Regions from separate parts of the Homo sapiens genome. Here regions 1, 3 and 4 are each linked to region 2. Evidence: promoter capture Hi-C in 16 types of primary human blood cells and fetal thymus (Javierre and others, 2016). All regions are on one chromosome and are shown on one strand. Each heading gives the region's core, a stretch centred on a gene start or on the middle of the fragment in contact. The rest is flanking DNA. Distances are from core to core; before and after follow the strand shown.

What was found. The method cuts DNA at HindIII sites, captures the fragments that hold promoters and counts their contacts. A CHiCAGO score of 5 or more calls a contact.
Region 1: the fragment with the promoter of MFN2 here is called in contact with a fragment that was not itself captured in region 2 in 4 of 17 cell types (neutrophils, total B cells, naive B cells and 1 more); the score reaches 5.8 in neutrophils.
Region 3: a contact is called between the fragment with the promoter of KIAA2013 here and a fragment that was not itself captured in region 2, in 2 of 17 cell types (total B cells and naive B cells). The highest score is 6.6, in total B cells.
Region 4: the fragment with the promoter of DRAXIN here is called in contact with a fragment that was not itself captured in region 2 in 1 of 17 cell types (total B cells); the score reaches 5.2 in total B cells.

The regions. Positions count from the first base shown.
Region 1 is chr1:11,979,127-11,981,826 of GRCh38, reverse strand. MFN2 (mitofusin 2) reads right to left here and starts at 1,383. Exons shown (of 19, transcript NM_014874.4): 1 at 1,343-1,383. RefSeq lists silencers at 1,098-1,337, 1,508-1,767. The HindIII fragment of the contact is 7,841 bases long and covers 1-2,700 here.
Region 2 is chr1:11,095,620-11,098,319 of GRCh38, reverse strand. It overlaps EXOSC10 (exosome component 10), which reads left to right. Exons shown (of 25, transcript NM_001001998.3): 2 at 164-300; 3 at 2,439-2,562. Among named protein-coding and RNA genes, the nearest start is that of EXOSC10-AS1, 2.7 kb to the left of the region's middle. The HindIII fragment of the contact is 3,359 bases long and covers 1-2,700 here.
Region 3 is chr1:11,925,052-11,927,751 of GRCh38, reverse strand. It overlaps KIAA2013, which reads left to right and starts at 1,325. Exons shown (of 3, transcript NM_138346.3): 1 at 1,325-2,547. The coding sequence starts at 1,515. RefSeq lists enhancers at 1,106-1,400, 1,055-1,718, 1,719-2,381 and a silencer at 1,401-1,470. The HindIII fragment of the contact is 9,969 bases long and covers 1-2,700 here.
Region 4 is chr1:11,690,371-11,693,070 of GRCh38, reverse strand. It overlaps DRAXIN (dorsal inhibitory axon guidance protein), which reads right to left and starts at 1,361. Exons shown (of 7, transcript NM_198545.4): 1 at 1,218-1,361. It also overlaps a transcript of MAD2L2 not described here. RefSeq lists enhancers at 2,046-2,553, 2,554-2,700. The HindIII fragment of the contact is 12,625 bases long and covers 1-2,192 here.

The DNA of each region.
Region 1 (2,700 bases), core at 134-2,633, 880 kb before region 2:
GCATGTGAGGAAGTGCCCTGGGGAAAAAAACGCAGAGGTGTGGGACCAATCCTGACTGTGCACACGTATTCCGCCATGTGCGGGTTTGAGGCACCACGGAGGTCCCTGCAGGAGCCCTGGGAAAGGTACATCCAGAGAGGGGAGAAGAGGACAGAGCAAAACTAGGAACAAAACTGGGCTTGAGGACTGTGGAACAGCTGACTATTGAGGAACAGAAGAACTGACTGAAAGCCAATGTGTTCAGCTACTGTAAAGTATCTCACTTAATTCTCTATTCTGTGGGACAGAGGGCTGGAATACTTGAAGATTTGTCTAAGCTGGGATCTGAAATATTAGCTCCCTTTGACTCCAAAGCTCCTGGAGTGCAGCAGCGCGATCTCGGCTCAACCTCCGCCTCCCGGGTTCAAGCGATTCTCCTGCCTCAGCCTCCTGAGTAGATGGGATTACAGGCGTGTGCCAGCAAGCCCGGCTAGTTTTTGGTTTTAGCACAGACGGGGTTTCACCATGTTGGCCAGGCTGGTCTCCAACTCCTGACCTCAGGTGATCCGCCCGCCTCAGCCTCCCAAAGTGCTGGGATTACAGGTGTGATCCACTGCGACCGGCCTCCTTCCTTTTTTAACTACATTGAGCTGCCTTCCTCCCCCAAGCCCCAAACCTTGGGACACCAGAGGCGGATAACCAGAGCCCTTTTCTGGGTAGAAAAGAGATAACCAGAGCCCTTTTCTGGGTAGAAGAGAGAGAGATGATTGAGAATTTAAAGAGGGCAATGAAGGATTACGAGAGGGGGTAACGGGCAGTTCTGCCTTCGTGCGTCTTAACAGCTATTTATTCAACATTTTCTGTGTGCCTTCTCTGTGTGTGTCAGGCGCCACGTTAGAAATGGATAAGAAACAGTCCTGCCCTCCAGGGCCTTACAGTCCGGTGAGAAGTCATATAAGTAAACAGGGCTGAACGAGAAGGCAGTAACTGCCCAAAGTGGGGATGGCAGGGCGCTCCCGCGGTGAACGTGGACACCTATCAGGTGCTGAGTAAATGCTGGCAAAATGAAGACAGGATGAAAAATAGAGAAGGGGCAGGGGTAGAACATGGCCGTGAAGGGTGGAAAGGCGGGGGCGATGAGAAGCTACAGGGGACCCCACCGACCAGTCCCAGGTCCCGTGGCCCGCCCCCTCCTCTCAGGGCCGGGGAGGGCCCGGCGGCGAGGCCGGAGAGTGGGGACCCCGCTTGACTGCATCCCAGACCCCCGTGGCCCCAGAATCCCGTCGGCCCACGCCGAGCTGCTCAGGACTCGCCGGGCCGGGCCGGGCCAGTCCCCGCCACCCCGGCTTGCTCGCCCTCTCACCTTCACCTTCCCGGCCTCGCGGCGGCCATCACACTCACTACGTCACCAGCGAGCGCCACCCCAGGGGGAGGCGGGAGGAGGGAAGTGGATAAGCGCGTCACCAGTCGCCTCAGATTGCCCCTCGACCCGGGTGAGCTGGTGGACCCTGAGCCCAGCCGGCTCGCCCCGCCTACTCCTTACGCCTCTGCTGCCCCGCGACTCGGCGCTTCGAGCGGCGTCTCAGCGCGCCACTCCTCCGCGCGCCACTCCTCCGCCGGCGCGTCCCAAGCGGACGACGCAGAGGCTCGGACTCCCACTGCATCATGGGGGCTGTAGTTCCGGTGGGCGTCGGCCGGAGCTGGGGGGGCGGGGCAAAGCGGGGCGGAGCCTCAAGCTGTCAAGGGGCGAAAAACCAAGGGCGTGGAGTAGAGGTTCCCGCTTTTTCGCCGGTTGTCCTAGAGCCTGACCCTGGGGCCTCTGCCAGCTCTGGAATCCAGATTTGCATTCTGTAATCTTAGAGGAGTGTTCTCTAGAGGGCCAGGCCTAGGGTGAAGTGACTCATCGGGCAGACAGAAGCGAGCATGGGCCTGCTGCCCTTCAGTCGCCTTTGAGGAAAGAAGAGCAGCAACAACGGCGAATCAATGCCAGTGACTGAACTGCGTCTCTAACATCCACCGCTGTATTTAACGTCCACAGCAGTCCCAGGAGAGGGAGAGGAGAGGTTACCCAAGCTCACATGGTTACCCAGATCACCGGGCCCCAGTGATGCGGCAGACACTACTAGGAAACCGCAGCAAACAGATCCCTTGCAGGACTTGGCCTCCGCAGAGAAGGCTCCAAGCCTGAGCGCGCCAGAACAGTAGGCACTAGCCACGTGTGGCTCTCGAGTCCTGAGCCAGTGCAAACGGAGATGCGCTATAAGACTTAGGACAAAAAAGGCTGTTAAACTATCTCAATTTTTAGGAAAAAAAAATATCGACCGGGCGCGGTGGCTCAAGCCTGTAATTCCAGCATTTTAGGAGGGCGAGGCGGGTGCATCGGGAGTTCAAGACCAGCCTGGCCAACATGGTGAAACCCCGTCTGTACTAAAAATACAAAAATTAGCCAGGCATGATAGTGCACTCGGGAGGAAGAGGCAGGAGAATCGCTTGAACACGGGCGGTGGAGGTTGCAGTGAGCCGAGATCATGCCACTGCACTCCAGCCTGGGCAACAGAGACTCCGTCTCAAAAAAGAAAAAAAAAATCTATCTTTGAGCCAGAGTCTCACTCTCACTCAAGCTGGAGTGCAGTGGTGCAATCACGGCTCACTGCAGCCTCGAACTCCTGGGCTCAAGTAATCCTCCCACCTCACTCAGCCTCCCAAGTAGCTGACCACAGA
Region 2 (2,700 bases), core at 62-2,561:
ATTGTATTCTCAGGGCCTAGATTAGATTGGGGTTTGGCACTAAATGAGTGCTTTTTTTGATGGATGAAGAGTAGATACCTTGTATACGATAGATCAAAAAAATGACATACCAAATGAATGGGGATCCCTGTGTAAACATGCCATCTTTTCTTGTTTTTGACAGTTTGCTCTTGGGTCCGTGGTGGCAGTCACCAAGGCATCTGGGGGCCTACCACAGTTTGGCGATGAGTATGATTTTTACCGAAGTTTTCCTGGCTTCCAAGCATTTTGCGAAACACAGGGAGACAGGTTGCTTCAGTGGTAAGTACTGTACTTTGTTTTCTTGTGTTAGTGAAAAGAAATGAAAACAAAGAAGTAGATAAATTTTTCCTGAAATTTATTTTTCCTTAAACATTTTCTGTGGTATGAAGAGCTATAAAATGTGAAAATTGAAGCAATGGATTTTGATTAGGGAAATATTACTTGGTATATTTTTAGTTTAGCCTTTAAAAAATGTATTGACTTTTGTACTGAAAAAATATATTGACTTTTGTACAAATCTTTTTTAATTAAATGGGACGTGAACACTTAGAGCCAAGATTCTTTTTTTTTTTTGAGACGGAGTCTCGCTCTATTGCCCAGGCTGGAGTGCGGTGGCATGATCTCGGCTCACTGCAAGCTCCGCCTCCCAGGTTCACGCTATTCTCCTGCCTCAGCCTCCTGAGTAGCTGGGACTACAGGTGCCCGTCAACACGCCCAGCTAATTTTTTGTATTTTTAGTAGAGACAGGGTTTCAACATGTTAGCCAGGATGGTCTCGATCTCCTGACCTCGTGATCCACCTGCCTCGGCCTCCCAAAGTGCTGGGATTACAGGCGTGAGCCACCGCGCCTTGCCAGATCCAAGATTCTTTCCCACAACTTGTAGAGTAGCAGGTATTTTTATTTTTATTTTTATTTTTTTTGAGATGGAGTCTCGCTCCATCACCCAGGCTGGAGTGCATTGGCTCAATCTCGGCTCACTGCAACCTGCGCCTCCCAGGTTCAAGCGATTCTCCTGCCTCAGCCTCCCGAGTAGCTGGGATTATAGGTGTACACCACCACGACCAGCTTTTTTTTTTTTGTTGGGGGGGAGTACGGAGTCTTGCTCTGTCGCCCAGGCTGAAGTGCAGTGGCGTGATCTCGGCTCGCAGCAACCTCCACCTCCCAAGATCAAGCGATTCTTGTGCCTCAGCCTCCCCAGTAGCTGGGATAACAGGCATGTACGACCATTCCCGGCTAATTTTTGTATTTTTAGTAGAGGAGGTTTCACCATGTTGGCCAGGCTGGTCTCGAACTCCTGACCTTGTGATCCACCCACCTCAGCCTCCCATAGTGTTGGGATTACAGGTATAAGCCACTGCGCCTAGCCAGTTTTTTGTATTTTTAGTAGAGATGGGGTTTCACCATGTTGGCCAGGCTGGTCTCGAAGTCGTGACCACTCCTGAAGTGCTAGGATTACAGGTGTGAGCCACTGCGCCCAGCTAGGGTGCAAGTTTTATTGGTTTCATCAAAAAGTATCAGGGGCCAGACATGGCGGCTCATGCCTGTAATCCTAGTGCTTTGGGAGGCAAAGGCAGAAGGATCGCTTGAGCCCAGGAGTTCAAGACCAGCCTGGGCAACGTAGGGAGACTCCATCCCTACAAAAAATTTTTAAAGTAGCTGGGAGTGGTGGTGCACCACTCCCAAGTCACAGCTACTTGGGAGGCTGAGGTGGGAGTATCACTTGAGCCCAGGAGTTCAAGGCTACAGGGAGCTGTGATTGTACTGCTGCATTCCAGCCTGGGTAACAGAGCAAGACCCTGTCTCTTTAAAAAAAAAAAAAAAAAAAAGAAAGAAAGAAAGAAAGAAAAAGGCTGGGCTCATGGCTCACACCTGTAATCCCAGAACTTTGGGAGGCCGAGGCAGGTGGATCACTTCAGGTCAAGAGTTCGAGACCAGCCTGGCCAACGTGGTGAAACGTCATCTTTACTAAAAATACAAAAATTAGCCAGACCTGGTGGCGTGTGCCCATAATCCCAGCTACTCAGGAGGCTGAGGCATGAGAATCGCTTGAATCCGGGAGTCGGAGGCAGGCAGATCACTTCGGGTCAGGAGTTCGAGAGCAGCCTGGCCAACATGGCAAAACCTCATCTTTACTAAAAATACAAAAATTAACCAGACCTGTTGGCATGTGCCTATAATCCCAGCTACTCAGGAGGCTGAGACACGAGAATCGCTTGAACCCGGGAGGTTGAGGTTGCAGAGAGCCAAGATCATGCCACTGAACTCCAGCCTGGGCAACAGAGCAAGACTGTCTCAAAAAAAAAAAAAAAGATGTGTTGGGAACAGTCTGAGCCACATCATTTGAACATTCTCTCTCACAGAATGTAAACAAGTGAAATAAAAATCTACAAGCTAACCTTGGTTTTCCTTTCCTTAGCATGAGCAGAGTAATGCAGTACCATGGGTGTCGCAGCAACATTAAGGATCGAAGTAAAGTGACTGAGCTGGAAGACAAGTTTGATTTACTAGTTGATGCCAATGATGTAATTCTGGAGAGAGTGGTGAGTATTTTCCCTTACTCTTTTTTTTGTTTTGTTTTGTTTTTGAGACGGAGTCTCGCTCTGTCGCCCAGGCTGGAGTGCAGTGATGCGATCTCGACTCACTGCAAGCTCTGCCTCCCGGGTTCACAACACTCTCCT
Region 3 (2,700 bases), core at 76-2,575, 830 kb before region 2:
AGCGATTCTCGTGCCTCAGTCTCTCAAGTAGCTGGGATTACAGGCGCCCACCACCACGCCCAGCTAATTTTTGCATTTTTATTTTTTTATTTTTATTTATTTATTTTTTTTTTTTTGAGACAGAGTCTCCCTCTGTCACCCAGGCTGGAGTGCAGTGGCGCGATCTTGGCTCACTGCAAGCACCGCCTCCCGGGTTCACGCCATTCTCCTGCCTCAGCCTCCCGAGTAGCTGGGACTACAGGCGCCTGCCACCACGCCTGGCTAATTTTTTATATTTTTAGTAGAGACAGGGTTTCACCGTGTTAGCCAGGATGGTCTCGATCTCCTGATCTCGTGATCTGGCGGCCTCGGCCTCCCAAAATGCTGGGATTACAGGCGTGAGCCACCGTGCCCAGCCTAATTTTTGTATTTTTAGTAGAGACAGGTTTTCACCATGTTGGTCAGGCTGGTTTCGAACTCCTGACCTCAAGTGATTTGCCCATCTCAGCCTCCTAAAGTGCTGGAATTACAGACGTGAGCCACCACTCCTGGCCTCTGGTGGTTCCCCTTCCCCTCCTCCTCCCTTTTCCTTTCTTCTTCTTTCTTCCTCTTCTTCTCTCTCCTTTTTTTTTCCTCCACTTTTTCGTATTGTTCCAAGTGTTTTTTTGCAGTGAGGATAGTCTTTTTTTTTTTTTTTTTTTTTGAGACAGAGTCTCACTCTGTCGCCCAGGCTGGAGTGCAGTGGCGTGATCTCGGCTCACTGCAAGCCTGCAACCTCCGCCTCACGGGTTCAAGCAGTTCTCCTACCTCAGCCTCCTGAGGAGCAGGGATTACAGGCATGCGCCACCACGCCCGGCTAGTTTTTGTATTTTTAGTAGAGATGGGGTTTCACCATGTTGGTCAGGCTGGTCTCAAACTGCTGACCTCGTGATCCGCCCGCCTTGGCCTCCCAAAGTGCTGGGATTACAGGCGTGAGCCACCGCGCGCGGCGAGAGGATGGTCATTTTTACAGAAACAAAGTTGTTGTGTGTGTGTGTGTGTATGTTTTTAAATTTTGGGGCTGTTGAATCCATCAGTAGCAAAGGGGCCCAACACGTGTTCGGTTTGGCTGGCTCGATGTTTTTTTCACGAGTGAATTGGATGCTTCCAGTCCTCCCCAGACCCCTGCACTTAACTCCACTGGACTTCACTCTTCCGGCCTGGGAACGAGTGGTCCCGCCCCCGGCAGCTTTTGTCCCGCCCTCGCCGTGGCTCCGCCCCCTTCTCTCCGGCCTGCTCTCTCTCCTCCCTCCGCCCTCCCGTTTTCCATCTGTCGTAAAAGACACGGCGACGCTTGACCGCCGGCGTCGTTTGACGGCTGGAGGCCACCGAGAAGAAGGAGGAAGCAGGGGTGGCGGCTGCTGCGGCGGTTGCGGCGGGGGCCGGGGTGGGCGCCGCGGTCCGGGCCGGGCAGTGAGGCGCGGGCGGCCGGGCCGGTGGGCTGGGCGGCGGGCCCGGCGGCCGCCCTCGCACCCTTGCCCGCGCCTGGCGGCCCGATGTGGCTGCAGCAGCGGCTCAAGGGGCTGCCGGGACTGCTGTCGAGCAGCTGGGCCCGCCGCCTCCTCTGCCTGCTTGGCCTCCTGCTGCTGCTTCTGTGGTTTGGGGGGTCCGGCGCGCGGCGGGCGGCGGGCGGCCTGCACCTGCTGCCCTGGTCCCGCGGTGAGCCGGGCGCCGCCGAGCCGTCTGCCTGCCTGGAGGCGGCCACCCGCGCCTGGCGCGGCCTGCGGGAGCGCGGTGAGGTGGTACCGCTGGGTCCTGGAGTGCCGGCCCTGGTGGCCAACGGCTTCCTGGCCCTGGACGTGGCTGCCAATCGGCTGTGGGTGACTCCCGGGGAGCGGGAGCCCGCCGTGGCGCCGGACTTTGTGCCCTTCGTGCAGCTGCGCCCGCTGAGCGCGCTGGCTGAAGCTGGAGAGGCGGTGCTGCTGCTGCGGGAGGGGCTTCTGCGCCGCGTGCGTTGCCTGCAGCTGGGGTCCCCAGGTCCTGGCCCCGTGGCCGCCGGCCCCGGGCCCGCCTCCGTCTCTGGCCTTGCCGCGGGGTCCGGCCGCGACTGCGTGCTGCTGCAAGAGGACTTTCTGGCGCACAGGGGCCGACCCCACGTCTACCTGCAGCGCATCCAGCTCAACAACCCCACGGAGCGCGTGGCCGCGCTGCAGACTGTGGGGCCCACTGCCGGCCCAGCCCCCAAGGCCTTCACCAGTACCCTGGAGAAGGTCGGAGACCATCAGTTCCTCCTCTACTCAGGCCGGTCCCCGCCTACGCCCACTGGGTTGGTGCACCTGGTGGTGGTGGCCGCCAAGAAGCTGGTGAACCGCCTCCAAGTGGCTCCCAAGACGCAGCTGGATGAGACGGTGCTGTGGGTGGTGCACGTCTCTGGCCCCATTAACCCCCAGGTGCTCAAAAGCAAAGCAGCCAAGGAGCTCAAGGCGCTGCAGGACTTGGCACGGAAGGAAATGCTGGAGCTCTTGGACATGCCAGCGGCGGAGCTGCTTCAAGACCACCAGCTCCTCTGGGCTCAGCTCTTCAGCCCAGGTGAGTCCTGGCCAGCGCTTGGTCCACCCTAGATATGTCCCTCCCAAGTCTGCAGAGGTGACACTGAAGGTGATGGTGGGGTGGTTGAAACTTGGGCTTGGCGTTTCACCAGTGGTTGAATCTGCTCAACTGCTTAGTGTCTGTGCGACCTTT
Region 4 (2,700 bases), core at 112-2,611, 590 kb before region 2:
AAGAGGCTGTGGTGGTGGGGTTACTCTGAAGTGTCTCTAAGCCTTGACTTTGAGATCCATTTCTGTGGAGCCCCCTGTCCCCACCCCATCCCAGGTCTGTAGACTCCCCTCCCCTCCCCTCCCTTCCTCCACAGGGTGTGTGAACCAGCACCAAGCGGCACCCCACAATTTCCACACACATCCCTATAGGTAGGGACTAGCACCATCCCTGTTTTGTGACAGGAACACTGAGGCTCAGAGAGGTGCATTCCTTTGTCCGAGATCACTCCCAGAGCCCCAGTGTACCCGACTCCAGATGCATAGTACTGAACCGGTTCCAGACACCAGTGTGTCACTGGGCTGGGAGGTGGGCAGCGTGGAGGGAGCATATAGGGCAGGGGAGACCACCGGGCGGAGAGGATGGCCCAGGGAGCACCCAGCTGAGGAAAGCAAGAAAGACTTGGCGGGAAACCCCAGCCCTCTCTCATCTCATACCCCGGCCCCGAAGGCGGCTGAGACCCTTGACGAGCGGACGGAGAAAAGCCAAAAGCCGGCGGTGGGGAGCAGGAGGGACAGAGCGGGAGACCACAGGCGAAAGACCAGCGCCGTCGGGGGAGCCAGGCTGAGTACCTTCCTGGGCACAGATGGGACGGCGCGGGGCCACCGGCGGTGCTGGTTCCGGGCGCACTCAGCGACCCCGGCCACACACCCCAGCCTCCTGGGCGGCCTCGAAAGGGGCTGGAGGGCACGCCCGCCAGCTCTGCCCGGGGCTCAGGGAGTCTTCGAAGACTTCTTCCAACGGTGGCGGACTGGGGCCCCCTGCCTGAGAGACCACCCGGAGACTCAGAGACAGAGAGACAAAGGGAGACTGGGTCAGGGAGAGAGAAGGCTAGTGCCGAGGAGAGTAGGTGCGAGCCGGGACCCCAGAGGGCGGCGAGGGCGCGCGCGAGGCCGAGTGTCAGAGCGTGGAAAAGTGGGCGTCCAGCGGTAGGTGGACGGATGGGGAGCCCGGGAGCAGAGCCAGGGTCCGTGGGCAGACGCGGCGAGGAGAGGAGGCGGCGGAAGGACTGGCGGATAGACGGGTCCGAGGGCTGGGAAGGAGGCAGCATCCTCACTTCCAGCCTCGGGACCCCGCGCACCCCGCCCCTGGGCGCGCCAGGTAGCCCACCTTTGTCCGGGCTCGCAGCCAGGTGGGGCGGGAGGGGCGGAGCCAGGGGCGGGCCGAGGCCGTGCCTTACCTGTCCGGCCGGCGGGTAGGGGGAGGAGGGGCTCGGGGCCGAGCGCCCGCGGGAGCCGAGCGCAGCCGAGGGCGAGCCGCGGAACGGGGCCGGCGTGGAGAGGTGCGCGGGCAGCCGGAGGATGTGCCCGGGCTGAGCGGGACTGGAAGGAAGGGGGAGTGGGCGGGCAGGAGGGAAGGGGGCGGGAGCGCGGGGAGGGGACAGAGGAGGGGCGGCGGGTGGCGGGCTCGACTGCCCCCAGCCGAGGGGCAGCCCCGGGGCCGGGCCCGGCGCGCACCCGGCCAGCGCGCCCTCGCCAGCTGCGCTCTGAGTTCTGGGCCAGCTCCCCAGAGGCCTAGGCGCCGCCGCCGCGAGGGCGCGGGGCAGACAAAGGAGGCAGACAAAGGCGGGCGCAGCCCAGCAGCCGTGCGGGCACCGGGCGAGGCAGGCCCACTCCTCCCGGTGCGTAAGAGCCGCCTCGGCGCGGCCCAGGGCGCGTGGGACGGGAGGGGCTCCGGCAGTTGTGGCGCCTCTGGAGCGGCCCCGCGCAGGGCGGGCGACAAAGGGCCGCGGCGGGCGGTCCTCGGTGGACCCCAACAATGGAGCGAGGCTGCGCGCTCAGCTGCGGCCGCGTCTGTCAGGGCAGGGGCCCGGGGCCACAAAAGGATTATTCCGCCTAGACTGTCAAAAGGGACGGAAGAAATGCCCAGGGCGGGGGAGGCGGGACGGGGAACGGCGGGGCCTTTGTAGCCGCAGAAAGTGCGCAGAGTGGGCAGGCGGGGTTCTCCGAGAGGTCGCTCCTGGATGTAGGGGTACAAAGGGTCTTCAAAGTGCTACCAGCTCACCTGGGGCGCTGACGGCGCACCTGTGCCCTCTTTCCCGGTAGGGAAGGGAGAAAGACAACCGCCCCAATACACACACACACAAACACACACACACACACACTCACACGCGGCGCGGCTCTCGCCACGCCCCGTCCAAAGCCGGCCTGAAGCTTCTCAGACCGGCCCAACCCGGACAAAGCCAGCGCTGGGGCCGGCTCATCCATCACCGCGCGGGGCGCCGTGTCCTGACGACCCTGGGAGTCTGAGAATGCTGGGTTATGGGTCCCGTGCCTCCCATAACTCACGACGGGGTCGGTGGGGCCACGGACGCTGCAAAGATCAAAGAGCGATGGGGCCGGACTCCCATATGTGGGAAGCAGCGCTCCCACCTGGCGCCCTGAGCTCGCCAGGTGGCTTCCATTTCGACTGTTTTCTTTCTCCAGCGTGTGGCAAATTATGACTTTGAGGTTTTAGAACACAGTTCTGCCGTCAGGCTAAATGTCTGTGTTCCTCTTCTGATGCCGTCCCCTATGACCTCGAGCAAGTCGCCTGACCTCTGAGCTCATGATTATACCTAAATTTCAGTGTTCTAGGCGTGAATGCAGTGCCCTGTGTAAGGAGATAACGTTTCTAAGGTCTGGCCCATAGGAAATGCTCCTGTAAAATTAGCTGCCATTGTT